Regions from separate parts of the Homo sapiens genome. Here region 1 is linked to region 2. The links are contacts of gene promoters, found by promoter capture Hi-C in human tissues and cell types (Jung and others, 2019). All regions are on one chromosome and are shown on one strand. Each heading gives the region's core, a stretch centred on a gene start or on the middle of the fragment in contact. The rest is flanking DNA. Distances are from core to core; before and after follow the strand shown.

Region 1 (7,148 bases), core at 3,984-6,483, 850 kb before region 2:
ATAGAAGGAGGGGGAAGCAAGAGTTGGGGTGCCTAGACCTTCATTGTGTCATGTGTCAATTATGGTACAAGTTGCCCCTAATGGACCCCACAAAGCGGAGAGGTAAGAACTCAGACCTACCCTCCTGTTGCTCCATAAGGTACAATTCCACCACCCTGCTTTCTCCTTTCTCTCACTTTGTACTTTCTCCTTACCCTCTCATTGGAGCATGCCTCCTGCTGTGTGTACATGAAGGATCACACTCTCACATTCCCACAGCAAATGCCTCATATGGGCTTAAGAGTAATTTTTTTTTTTTTTTGAGACAGGGTCTCACTCTGTTACCCAGGCTAGAGTGCAGTGGCACAATCACTGCTCATGCAGCCTCAAACTCCTGGGCTTAAGTGATCTTTCTACCTCAGCCTCCTAGGTAGCTGAGACTACACCCAAGTACCACCACGCCTGCCTAATTTTTTTTTCTTTTTCTGTAGAGACACGGTCTTGCCATGTTGCCAAGGCTGATCTTGAACCCCTGATCCTCCTGCCTCGGCCTCCTAAAGTGCTGAGATTGCAGGCCTGAGCTGCCATGACAGCCAAAACAGAAAACTGAATTGGTTCTACAGGCCCCTTTAGAAGCCTCTTATTCTGCCCAATATACCTACAACTGAACATATAATTTCAGTTCTAGGCAGAGAGAAGGAGCTAGTGGCCTCACTTGGGACCTTTGGCCTAAGCTTCTGGACTCTGGCTCTTACCAGCATAATGCAGTAGACCACAGAAGTCCATTGGTTTGGCTATCCATCCAATGGGAATTATATGTCTTTGGTTATCAGTCCTTACAAATATAAATCCCTGAGACAGAACAAACAAAGGATGAGGGGCAAATGCTAAAATAAATTCCTCACCCCAACTCCAACAATTTTCAATTCTTTGACTCAGATCTCTAGGGACACAAACTTCTGCATCTTTAGAATCAAAGAAAACTTAAAAAAAACCCCAGCAGATTCATGAGAATGACTATTTGGGGAACTAGGACTTCCTTTCAATAAAAACAGACCATAAAAAGTGGTTAAAAGCTAGAACTTCAGTCGCAAATACACCTGGATTAGAATCCCAGCTTGACTACTTGCTAGCTTTGTGACCTTTGGTGACAAACTTACCCTGTGCATGTCTCAATTCTCTCATCTGTAAAATGGGAATTGGGGCTCTCTTAACAACACTGGTGTGATTATCTAATGAGACAATGTGTGAATCTGGCACACCGGGTAATGCGCACTGAATGGGAGTTATTTGGCTTTGTTAGGATTGACTCACATTAGGAATGAAACCTGGAATGAGCCTCTTCTGAAAAACTGCATCCCAGTTTATATCATTCATATACGGGAAGTTCTGGACATCAGATAACTGAGAAAATCGTTGGTCTGGATTAGGTTCGAGTAGCTGCCAATAAAATGCAAACATCAAGGCCATAAGAAAGGATAGAAGGACAAAAAAAAATCATACAAATTCCCTCTAAATGCTTTCAACTGTAGGACTGAAGGAAAATAGACAGTGTCCCCTATCCCTAATCCCATAAACAATGTAGATCATACATTATTAGAATGAACAGTATGTAGGATTCTGCAATGTGATGAGTAAAAATGGCTTGTCCTACTAAGTCAAATATATCTTTGATTCTTGACTCCTCTACTTACTAAGGGCAAATTTGTTCTCTAAATCTTAGTTTACCCATGTGTTTAAAAAAAGTGGTAATAATGTATTTCATACGATTGTAATCAGGATTAGTGGGAGGCTATTTATACAAAGTACCTAGTAGAAAACCTATGGTGACAAATGTTGATACATTTCACAAGTAGAACTCATTTCCTACTAAGAATTGTAGCTGTTTTTACAACTAATTAAAATACATTGGGGGCGGCATAGATAAGGTGTAACTAAAGTAACTGTTATAGTTCTAGATTTTACTAATTGAGATAAAAGATTTTTGCCCCCTTAACCATTCCTGAGCCAACATCACAGCAATTGTGTGGCTCAAATAGGCATTGTCAGTCCCACTTGAGAATGCTTCTGAAGATGACAACCATGCAACCTCAGGGTGTAATTTGTGGAGTGAAGCAGGGCTGTCTTGGAACTAAGCAGAATTTGCTTATGAAAAATGATCCCCCATTCTATGTCTTTGACATTACTGATGCAATGTCCCTATTCCAAAATAAGGAACTTGACTCCAAAAACAAGAGACACAAATGATGACTCCTTAGCCACTAAAGCTATTTTCCATTACCAGCCACAACTGGTGCAATTTTCTCCTCAAAAAAAAAAAAAAAAAAAAAAAAAAAAAAGGCCAAGCCCATTCCTCTTGGGCCCCTCATTCTTGTTTTGTATCATCACTCAATATACACTTTTGACCTCCCGCTATAACTGTTCTTCATCTGTTTGATGAAGATGGGTACCTTGAAAATCTGATGAAAGCTGTGGACCTCATTTATTTGAATACTTGTCAAATTTCACTTCTCAGGCTTTGTGTTAGATGCTGAGAATACAATGGTAACACATGTCAGACATGGTCCCTACCCTCATGAAGCTAAGAAGAAAATGGTACGTAACCAAGGATCACACAAATGCTGGGTATAATTTTAAACTGAAAAATGCTATGAAGGAAAGATAGTGTTATGTGAACTTACACCAAGAAGGTGATATTTGAGCTAAGAGCTAAAGTTGTGCTTCCCAAACTATGTAGAAGGGTCAGTTATTTTTGTTTGTTTTTGTCTGTTTCAATTTCCAATCCACTGAAATCAGTATGTGGTCTTATTATGCATTGCCAGTATGCAGCACCCCACATAGACACCTTGTGACTTGAGTTCAACAACCGTCAAACAAGCTTGGACCCTCTTCAATAAGATAAGTCCATTGATCATGTGTTTAGATGCTACAGCAGTGTCCAATTGCTATAAAAGTTTCTAAATGCTTCTCTCAAGTTCTTTACTTACAATAGACCTGCAGAAAAAATTCATGGACTAGAACCAGTGAACCACATTGAGTAGTACTGCTCTCAAGGAGGAACTGGAGGAACTAGGATTGGAGGCACTGTTCCAGGAATAGGTACTGGCATGTGCAAAGGTCCTGTGGTGAGAGGAAGACTGGTATGTAAAAGTGAAGAAGGAGAAAAGAAAGAAAAGAAGAAGAAAAAGGCCAAAGCAGTTTATGTGTAGTCAAAGGGGGGACAAAAGTCCAAAAGTCCAAAACAAGGCTTGAGAGGTATTTTGAACTTTTGTACCACAAAATTATTTTAATCTTTATTCTAAGAATAAGGAAAATATCCTGGACTGTCCTTTAACAGACCACTGTGGGGCTGCATGGGGAATAGAATGGAGTGGTAAAAGTGTATGTGGACAAACCCGTTATAAGGCTAGACTGATGGCAGTTGGATCAGGGAAATAGTAGTGAGGACAGAGAGAAGTGAAATATTTTAATACTTAAAATATAAAATTTCAGAACCTGGTGATGAATTGAATACGCAGATGACAAATGAGTCCTGGTTGCTGGCTGGCGTAAGTGGATTTGGATAGAGAAGCCAGTCACTGAGAGAATTTCCTGAGAAGATATTCAGGAAAGACAAAGATAAAGAAGTCCTTTGAGTTTAAGATGGCTTTGGGACATCCAAGGGGAATCTGAGTTGAGTTAATGAAGCCATGTATTTGAAAGCTAACAGCTAGAAAATACACTCTACAAATGTATACTATCATGACTGTCCCCAATATTGTATACTAACTTCTAAACTTAAGCCAGAGAGCCTGCTTCCTTTTGTTACTTCGTTTGGACATGCAGTCTTCCTTCTTACCTTTTTAAGAAGTGACACCATTTCCTGTGACCAGGCAGAAGGGTAAGTTACAACAGTCGTCTCAAACGTGTGTACAATTTCCTTGCTGGAAGTACTGGAGCGAATATGATACGGTCTCTTAAGGGAGAAAAGAAGTAAAAGTCTTCATTTGTATAGGACAAAAGAAAAAAAAAATTTCCAAATGTTTCCAAGCTAAACTTTCAACCGATAAAATATCTATATCAATTTCTAACCCTGTCCAGCTGACTCTTGCGTTGCCATATGTGTAGGTGGTCCTGTGTTGCCAGACCCCCTACTTTTTCTTAAAGAGACACTAGGAATTTATGGTCGCTTCTAAAATACCATAAATTTTAAAGTTGAACACTCCACTGAGCCAAACAAAACATTCAAGTGGACTGAATCAGCCTCTGAGATGCTGATTTGAAATTGTTTTATAAGGTATTATATAAGTATTAACACGAAATACTGGACAAGTCCTCAATAAATGGAAGTCTAAAAAATTATTATGTAAGGGTTGATTGCAAGTAAATCCAGAATTTTACCATACCATCCCTTTCACTGCAACATAATGAGGAAGCTCAGGACAGAAAACTGCTCAGAAAACATCAACTCCAGTCCCACAAATGCTATGAGTCCCTGGTTCCACAGAGTATGGCAGGGTGGAGAATTTTGTGATGAGGCAGAAGCTTTTAAAAAAAATTTTGGGGGAAGAACCAGGTTCTTCTACAGTTTTAATTTTGAAGAAAAGTAATTTAAAAAGAAAAGAAATTAAACAAAAGAAAACTGTGGATTAGCTGTAGTTTTCACAGCTTTACACTAGAGGACAGCCTTTATCTATATTATTTTGTAGGGGACTCACCAACACTGAAATTTCATGTCTCTTATGTGAACTGTAAGATACTCACAGCCAGAGATTATATCATTCTTGTTCATGAGACCAAGCATTCAGTAGGTGCACAATACATGTTTATTTAATGAACAAAATTTCCATATTCGATTAACTAGCCACAGCACAGTTAATATGGATATACACATTGATCACATGCCTGGCCCTTTTAAGATATTTAATAAATGACTGTTGATGGATGACCTAAATTGGGGGAAATGAAAGGGTTTAAGTTTTTCCCTGTAGTAAATCAGTGTTAAGAGGTAATATAAAATAATCATGTGTTTGAGGTTAAAAGGATTTGGTGCTAAACTTCTCCACTCAATTTCTGAGCTTGTTACTTCATCTGTAAAATGAGCTACCTCATGAGATTGCTGGAAAAATTAAAGGAGATAATATGTGTAAATTTCTCAACAGAGTGAGTGGCTAATAGTATTAGACACAATATAAGAGAGAGATTTTTATCATTATTGACACAAAGGTAAAAATGGGCATATGTAAATGTGAATGAATAGTGAACAGCAAAATGAGTCCTCAAGAAAAGTGATGGGAAGAAAAGCTTAATTTTACACATGGCAAGTCAATGTCAGCTATTCATGGAACCATGAAGTGCCAGGAGGTGGCCCTTGAAAGGGAGATTAATTCAAACATTTTTGCTTTTTAAGTAAGATCTAAAAACAACTGCCATATTTACCCCCTCAACACTAAATAAAGGACCATAGCTATATCATATGTCTTGGTAATTATATAGTAGAAATAACTCATTAACTCAATATCAGTAAAGGAGTGCTAGATGCTTTATCACCATTATCAATGTTTATTGGTAATTTAGTAGCCAAAGGGTTAGGTTACTCCATATGATTCAGACCATGTTTATCATTAAGAATCAGATTAGGCTTAGTATACTCAAGCTTCTAGGCTTATATGTGTATGCACATGTGTTTTTACTTTTTTCTGTGTTTCTTCTTGATTTTAATTCATTGCTGCTTCTCAACCTACTGTTTCTGGGCCACCTAGAAAATAAAATGATTTTATAAACAAATGAATTAACTGATGAATGCCACAAGCAGCTGGTTTAAGTGTGTACATTTTTCTCTAGTTACTTTACAAGGCCATATGACTGAATTTAATTTTTAAAATCTCCATGACCTGTTGGTTTATTAAAAAATAATCACATTGTCTTTATCTTATTTTTTAATTTACTTTTACAGTTCTAAATTTTAAAATTAATTTGAATTAATCAACTACCAGAATTGTATATTTATTTATTTACCAATTATTTATTGAATGCCTACCATGTTCCAGCACCTTTCTTAGGCATTGAGGGTACAATGAAGAACAAGACACATATGGTTTCTATGTTGGTGGGGCCTACAGTCTACTTAAGGAAGCATGTAAATTTATTATATAGACTGTATACACACACACACACACACTTAAATAAATGGGATACATGCTATAGAGAAAAATTACAGTATGCAGTCACAGTATATATCATAAAAGCCTAAGGCAGCATCTAAACTAACAGTGAGCATATAGAGAATAAACAAAGTGGAAAAGGTGAAATGTTATAAGGGAACAAATGATGTGTTGTGAATATGGTTGTATTTCAGAAGTGCAAAGGCAAAAGAATTGCAGCTAAGCATGTACAATGAGTACAAAACTATGTACACATCTATCCTAAGTTAACACTTTTGGATAATATGAAACTATAAAAGATGTGGACCTTTGCCTTTGCAATGGCAATGAGATAGTAGGGAGTTAGAGAGATGACAAAGCAGATTAATAGTTAAGGGACACATTCATTAAGACTGAAACCAAACTCAGAAATGATGAGAATGTTTTCGAGCACATTTTCTCATTAAGACATATACTTTTCTGTAAATAAAAATTTGTACGTATGGAGGAAATTGTTTAGCACACTTCCTCTGTGCTTGAGTTGTATTGATGCTTGTAATTAAATGTTACTTCCTTTTCTTCAGATAAGCTACATTTTGAAACGTAATTGCAGGTAGCATAGTTGGTCATTTTTTCCTAGAAGGTGTCTAAGTGATTTGTTTCTCCATTCATTCAATAACTGTCAGGCCTCTGAGCCCAAGCTAAGCCATCATATCCCCTGTGACCTGCACATACACATCCAGATGGCTGGTTCCTGCCTTAACTGATGATATTCCACCACAAAAGAAGTGAAAATGGCCGGTTCCTGCCTTAACTGATGACACTACCTTGTGAAATTCCTTCTCCTGGCTCATCCTGGCTCAAAACGTCCCCCGCTGAGCACCTTGTGATCCTCACCCCTGCCCACCAGAGAACAACCCCCCTTTTTCCTTTACCTACCCAAATCTTATAAAACGGCCCCACTCCTATCTCCCTTCGCTGATTCTCTTTTCGGACTCAGCCCACCTGAAACCCAGGTGAAATAGCCTTGTTGCTCACACAAAGCCT
Region 2 (7,124 bases), core at 1,899-4,398:
CATCTACAACTGAATTCTATGTTTTAAGTGAATATGCTATAAACAAAGATTCAAATAACTTCCACTTATAATGCAAATAAAGACTTCTTTTATGTTTGCTAATTACATTTATCCTTTATACGGAAATAATTTTAAAATGAAGAAAATGTAGATACAAGCCACATATAACATCCATCAGATACTCAGATATACAAGGGCTAATATTCAAAGTAAAATGTGAAACTTGGGTAGTATGGTCTGAATCTTTATGTGCCCTCCAAAATCACATGTTGAAATTTTCAGCCGGGCGCAGTGGCTCAAGCCAGTAATTCCAGCACTTTGGGAGGCCGAGGCGGGCGGATCACGAGATCAGGAGATCGAGACCATCCCGGCTAACACGGTGAAACCCCGTCTCTACTAAAAATATAAAAAAAAATTTAGCCAGGCATGGTGGCGGGCACCTGTAGTCCCAGCTACTCAGGAGGCTGAGGCAGGAGAATGGCATGAACCCAGGAGGCAGAGCTTGCAGTGAGCCAAGAGTGCGCTACTGCACTCCAGCCTGGGGTGACAAAGTGAGACTGTGTCTCAATAAATAATTAATCGGTGAACTCAGATGAAGTATATAGGGCAATTCTTTGTGCTCTTCTTGCATTTTTTCTCTATACATTTGCAATTATTTTTATTTTTTTATTTTTTAAGACAGAGTCTCTCTTTGTCACCCAGGCTGGAATGCAGTGGGACCATCTCGGCTCACTGCAACCTCAGCCTCCCAGATTCAAGCAATTCTCCCGCCTCAGCCTCCCGAGTAGCTGAGACTACAGGCATGTGCCACCACACCTGGCTAATTTTTGTATTTTTTAGTAGCGACGGGGTTTCACTATGTTGGCCAGGCTTGTCTTGAACTCCTGACCTCGGGTGATCCACCTGCCTTGGCCTCCCAAAGTGCTGGGATTACAGGTGTGAGCTACCGTGCCCAGAAGCAATTATTTTTAAATAAAAAGTTAAAATAAATTTCCCCCAAAAGAGCGGAGAAAGTTCATTATCCTTCAGTCCAAAGACTTTATCTCTAGCTGGAGCACCAGGAGATGCTTCCCTGAGTCAGTACCAATAGACTTGGGAAGTACCACATGACAGTCTTTAGTTTCCCTCAATTGTCTATTAAGAATCAAATTTCCATGGTATTAAAGGTGGCTTGAACCCATTTAGCTTTTTATCTTATACAGCTTCAGGAGGCTTGAATATCATAATCTTGAATATATAAGCCACAGTGTGAAGCAGTATATTTGTTTCTTGGTTCTGAATGAATCTCTTCCACATACATCAAGTGAACTACCTTCCTTGTAGTCTACAATCTGCAAAACATCACTCTGCTCCCTCCCCCATTTTCTTCCCTGTAAGACGTTGCGGGCCTCTTCACACCCAAAAGTGATGCTTGTTGAGACTCAAGGATATTTCATCCTTAAGTAGTTACTGGGAGTTACTGTGCCTTGCTGGAATAAGGTGTTGCCCCAATTTACTGTTCTATAGGAACAACTACTTCCCAGAGGTAAAAGGAAGGAAAGCAAAAGGAAATAGAAATGGAAACAAAGGAACCCAGCACCACTGACCACTGTCCCAATAGCTATACTGATCACTACTTATTTATTTTCTAGGACACTGAAGAATTTTAAAACGTCAGACCCTTCTTTACTTGCGAAAAACGTGAAAGCACAGTACCAGAATCCAGAGATCTGAATGCAGCAGCATACTCTCCTGTATATCATGCTTTAGCTTTTCTGACTAGCCACACTCAATGTAGCATGTATCTTCATATCAACCCCACAAACCCCATTCTCTGAACATTTTGAGCTCCTCTAATCCCCCCAGAGTATCCATTGCTTATTTTAAAATTTCAGGGCTAGTTCTACCAAATCATCTTATCTGAGAATTTTTTTATTTCTAGAGACAGAGGATCACTCTGTCACTCAGGTTGGAGTGCAGCAGCACAGTCATAGCTCACTGCAACCTCGAACTCCTGGGCTTAAGCAACCCTCTCACCTCAGTCTCTTAAGTAGCTAGGACTACAGGTGTACACCATCATGGCTGACTTTTTTTTTTTTCTTTTTTTTTTTTTTCTTGTTTGTTTGGTAGAGGTGGGGGCAGGGGTCTCACTTTGTTGCCCAGGCTGGTCTCGAACTTCTGGCCTTAAGCAATCCTCCCGCCTCCACCTCCCCAAATTCTGGGATTACAGGCATGAGCCAGTGTGCCCAGCACAAAATCTTTACCAACTTTAAAATATAATTTAAAAAAATCTCTTAAATGCCTTCCACATAGATATTGATTTTTCTTTCATTTCTCTTGTCTTGGTAAATCCTCTAGGAATGCTCTCTGAAAAGCAGCTTAATTCATCATGCAGTTGCCTTCATCACCATCACTTGTTGAAAAGTCTTATTAGTATGTAAAGCAGTTCTAATTTGGAGCTGTAAAATTGCTTCTAAAAACTCGTAATAGAATAAACTGAGAGTCATCCATAATTAGATTTTTTTAATAGGACTTCTAACTTGTTTTCATTATCCAGCTGTGTTTGAACTCAGCCAGCTGTTGATGGAACTGAGGTGGTTGTAAGGGTTGGGGAAAAGAAGAGGAAGCTCATCTCTGCAGAGTGGGTAGGGGAAGCTTTAGTTCTCAGTTTAAAACAGTGGTTCTCAAAGTGTGGTCTCCCAACCTGCAGCATCAGAGTCTCATGGGAACTTGTTAGAAATGATTTCTTGGGCCCTACTCCAGACCCACTGGATCCGGCCATCAGGTGAAGTTCAAAGAACTTGGTTCAGATGTAGTGTTCACTAAATTACAGACAGCAGTCAAGATTTTAGGAAGAGCTGGTTGAAAATAATTGCCTTGACTGGCTCTAGTGACCCCCCAAGGAACACATGCCACTTACATGTATGTTCTCTTCATTCATCATTTATGGGTATATTTGTATTACTCCACAGGGCTGACGATTTGGTATTAGACTTGCTAATGAGCAGCAGCCATGTGCTCCTGCTATCTGACAGTCGGTACAGTCACAAGTATATTGTATGCAGCAGAGAAGAGCTTAACAGCCAGCCTCCTTCCACATTCTGCTCTCAGGAAATAAGCAAGGGGAGGATCCAGAAGTGTCATTTGACACTGACGACAGAGTACTTATTTCCTATGCAAAAGAGCCCAGGCAGAAAGACAAACCTAAATAAGAATCTAACTTCTGTAAGAAGCTGTGAAGAGTGATGCTGGCAGCTGCCTTTGCAGACTCTAACTCCAGCAGCATGAATGTGTCCTTTGCTCACCTCCACTTTGCCGGAGGGTACCTGCCCTCTGATTCCCAGGACTGGAGAACCATCATCCCGGCTCTCTTGGTGGCTGTCTGCCTGGTGGGCTTCGTGGGAAACCTGTGTGTGATTGGCATCCTCCTTCACAATGCTTGGAAAGGAAAGCCATCCATGATCCACTCCCTGATTCTGAATCTCAGCCTGGCTGATCTCTCCCTCCTGCTGTTTTCTGCACCTATCCGAGCTACGGCGTACTCCAAAAGTGTTTGGGATCTAGGCTGGTTTGTCTGCAAGTCCTCTGACTGGTTTATCCACACATGCATGGCAGCCAAGAGCCTGACAATCGTTGTGGTGGCCAAAGTATGCTTCATGTATGCAAGTGACCCAGCCAAGCAAGTGAGTATCCACAACTACACCATCTGGTCAGTGCTGGTGGCCATCTGGACTGTGGCTAGCCTGTTACCCCTGCCGGAATGGTTCTTTAGCACCATCAGGCATCATGAAGGTGTGGAAATGTGCCTCGTGGATGTACCAGCTGTGGCTGAAGAGTTTATGTCGATGTTTGGTAAGCTCTACCCACTCCTGGCATTTGGCCTTCCATTATTTTTTGCCAGCTTTTATTTCTGGAGAGCTTATGACCAATGTAAAAAACGAGGAACTAAGACTCAAAATCTTAGAAACCAGATACGCTCAAAGCAAGTCACAGTGATGCTGCTGAGCATTGCCATCATCTCTGCTCTCTTGTGGCTCCCCGAATGGGTAGCTTGGCTGTGGGTATGGCATCTGAAGGCTGCAGGCCCGGCCCCACCACAAGGTTTCATAGCCCTGTCTCAAGTCTTGATGTTTTCCATCTCTTCAGCAAATCCTCTCATTTTTCTTGTGATGTCGGAAGAGTTCAGGGAAGGCTTGAAAGGTGTATGGAAATGGATGATAACCAAAAAACCTCCAACTGTCTCAGAGTCTCAGGAAACACCAGCTGGCAACTCAGAGGGTCTTCCTGACAAGGTTCCATCTCCAGAATCCCCAGCATCCATACCAGAAAAAGAGAAACCCAGCTCTCCCTCCTCTGGCAAAGGGAAAACTGAGAAGGCAGAGATTCCCATCCTTCCTGACGTAGAGCAGTTTTGGCATGAGAGGGACACAGTCCCTTCTGTACAGGACAATGACCCTATCCCCTGGGAACATGAAGATCAAGAGACAGGGGAAGGTGTTAAATAGATTTAAGTTTCAAAGCAAAACAAACTGTGATTATTGTATTTACTTGTACTGCTGCTTATCAATATTGCTGACTTTACAAACTGATATAATTATTACCATTAGGAATTATAAAAATATTTCACAATCTACACTTTCCAAATGTGCAATGTGGTAAGTAGAGAACCATGTTAGAAGTAATAATTGTTTCAGAATTAGAACTTGGCTTCCCAAACAATTTAAGTGTTGTGTAAAGATGTTGCTGTCAAAGTGATTAGACAGCCTGGCTATTCTGTCATTTGTTCACAGTGGTTTTACTGGGTACCCCCTAGGACCAGCCCTGTAGTGGACCGGCTGGAGCCTGCAGTAGAGGTTCTGTCAAAGCTGAGCCCCTTTACCTTCAGTTTCACCCAGGACCTGCTAGTCCTAATTTTACCTACTAAATTGTATTTCACATAACCAAAGCTCAAAATCTACTTTCACTTGAGATTTTTAACACATTAATGATAAATTTTAATGCGTTCTTCATTTACTTAATAAGTGTTAATTTACTTGATGAAAAGTCCGTATCATAATGTTCATGACTGAAGGTCAAAGAAAAAGAAACAGCACCTTATTCCAATTCTGGACTCATTTCAAGCCATGGCTGGTTCTGGCCAAGTTTAAATAAATTCAAACTTAAACTAAAGCCTGCTTCAGTGAACTTTTTAAAGCTACCTGAATGAGTCTTCAGTTTCTAAGTCTAAGAATTGTAGCAGCTTTCCAATGACATTCAGTAGTCTGATATGGGGGAAAAAATACTTAAAAAAATGTCCTCTCTTCACTTCCAAAATGTGGGAAAGTTATTTTTCTATAAGCAGAAATGTGTTCCTCCTAATATCTCCTTTCTCCCAAGATAAACCATGGTTAATGATATAGGTATAGATTACTCCTCAAATACAAATAGAAGATGGAGATGGTGATCTTTCTTGTTAATGGTACTAAACTTACCCTTACTCAGAACATTGAACTTGAACCCTACTCAACTTTTAAAATACTATAGGCTAAGTTATAAAAATAATCTAGCAACCTGAGAAAGAGATTAATATCAAAAAGAGAAAATTCAACAAACCAAGACAGAATTTGGTTAAGAATACAAAATAAAAAGCATAAGGGCAATGCAGAAAGCAGTAAAACTGTGTACCCAGACATACGGTAAAATCTGAGTAACAGGCAATAACCATTCATTTTATAGCAAGGTAAAACATACCCAATAAAACATGATTATGATATATTTCTGCCCCTTTTAAGTATAATGACATTCACCCATGATTCTTGATTACTTTGTTATGGAACTCGGGTATTTTCACTGAAAGTTTCCCTCAGAATAGAAATGCCTTTAGGGCAAACCAAGCCATGGAGAATCTGAAATATAAAGGATATGTTATGGAAAAAAAAAGATTTTGCTTTTTGTCTATGGGTTTCCGGATTCTTTGCTTTTTCATAAGTGGTCATAGTTTGCTTTTTAACACAGGAGGTAGGGCTGTATTCTTTTTACATCCTTCATTACAAATTTTATTTGAAGCTCATGTATTCAAATAAAGTAAAATTTAACCCAAGAATCCAAAATATTGTCTTGTGATATGGTAGTTATAAAAAGGATTATCATTGTCTGTGATTATTTGAATAAATAATTTTTATGTTCATTATATGTAGTAAATTTAGGATGTAAGCTTCCAGGGTTTGACACTTTAAACTTGTAAAGAAATAAAAATAATTACGCTTTACTTCCGATAGTTTTTGGAGATTTAAAGCTGTCTTTGTCTTGAATTATCATTCCAAAATCATTATTAGGAACAATGGAGCTTTATGGGGCTGTTTGACCTTAACACTGGAACAGGTCTCAAGGTGAACTGATTTTCAGAGTTTGCTAACAAGCACCAAATCAAGATGCAGACACTGGAACAAAGAGTAATTACAATGAACCTTTCATTAAGAACCTGATACACAAAGTTAAGTCCCGACTTGATCCCTTAAAAAATCTGCTTAGAGAAGTTTGATTTGTATCTTATCTGATCAAACCCAGATACTTTAAGACAAAAGTAGGAAATTAGAACAGATATCACCAAACTGTTTTCTTCTCACTTCTCTACTGTGAGAAACAACGTAGTAAGTGGGCAAACAATATTATGTGGAATTCAGAATAACAAAATAAGGCATTCTGGAAACTTTACCCTTGTGAGACAGTCGTATTTCTACATACTACATAATAGTTGTGCTCCTTTTGGCAAGCACTTCAATTTCATTCCTCACAGTACTTAAAAATCACTCAATGAACTTATAAAATGAACTTCAAAGAAAGAAAAAAAAGGAAACAGAAGGCGGCCAGGTGTGGCGGTTGACGCCTGTAATCCTAGCACTTTGGGTGGCCGAGGTGGGAGAATGGCTTGAGGCTAGGAGTTTGAGGCCAGCCTGGGCAACAGAGTGAAACCATTTCCAAAAAAATTTTAAAAAGAAAAAAAAAAAAGCCAGACATGGTAATGCATGCCTGCAGTCTCAGCTACTCAGAAGGATCACTGAAACCAGGAGTTCAAAGTTACAGTGAGCTATGATGGCACCACTGCACCCCAGCCTAGGAGACAGAGTAAGATCCTTTGTACGCATAAAAAGAAAAAACATATCCTG

Evidence for each region. The method cuts DNA at HindIII sites, captures the fragments that hold promoters and counts their contacts. A contact is called where the count stands out against the background at its distance.
Region 1: a fragment that was not itself captured here is called in contact with the fragment with the promoter of GPR151 in region 2 in 1 of the 25 tissues and cell types used here (dorsolateral prefrontal cortex).

Annotation. Positions count from the first base shown.
Region 1 is chr5:147,367,440-147,374,587 of GRCh38, reverse strand. It overlaps STK32A (serine/threonine kinase 32A), which reads right to left. Exons shown (of 13, transcript NM_001112724.2): 9 at 3,818-3,934; 10 at 1,294-1,419. Among named protein-coding and RNA genes, the nearest start is that of STK32A, 140 kb to the right of the region's middle. The HindIII fragment of the contact is 3,105 bases long and covers 3,681-6,785 here.
Region 2 is chr5:146,512,214-146,519,337 of GRCh38, reverse strand. GPR151 (G protein-coupled receptor 151) reads left to right here and starts at 3,148. Exons shown (of 1, transcript NM_194251.3): 1 at 3,148-6,194. The coding sequence starts at 3,225. The coding sequence ends at 4,484. The HindIII fragment of the contact is 7,544 bases long and covers 164-7,124 here.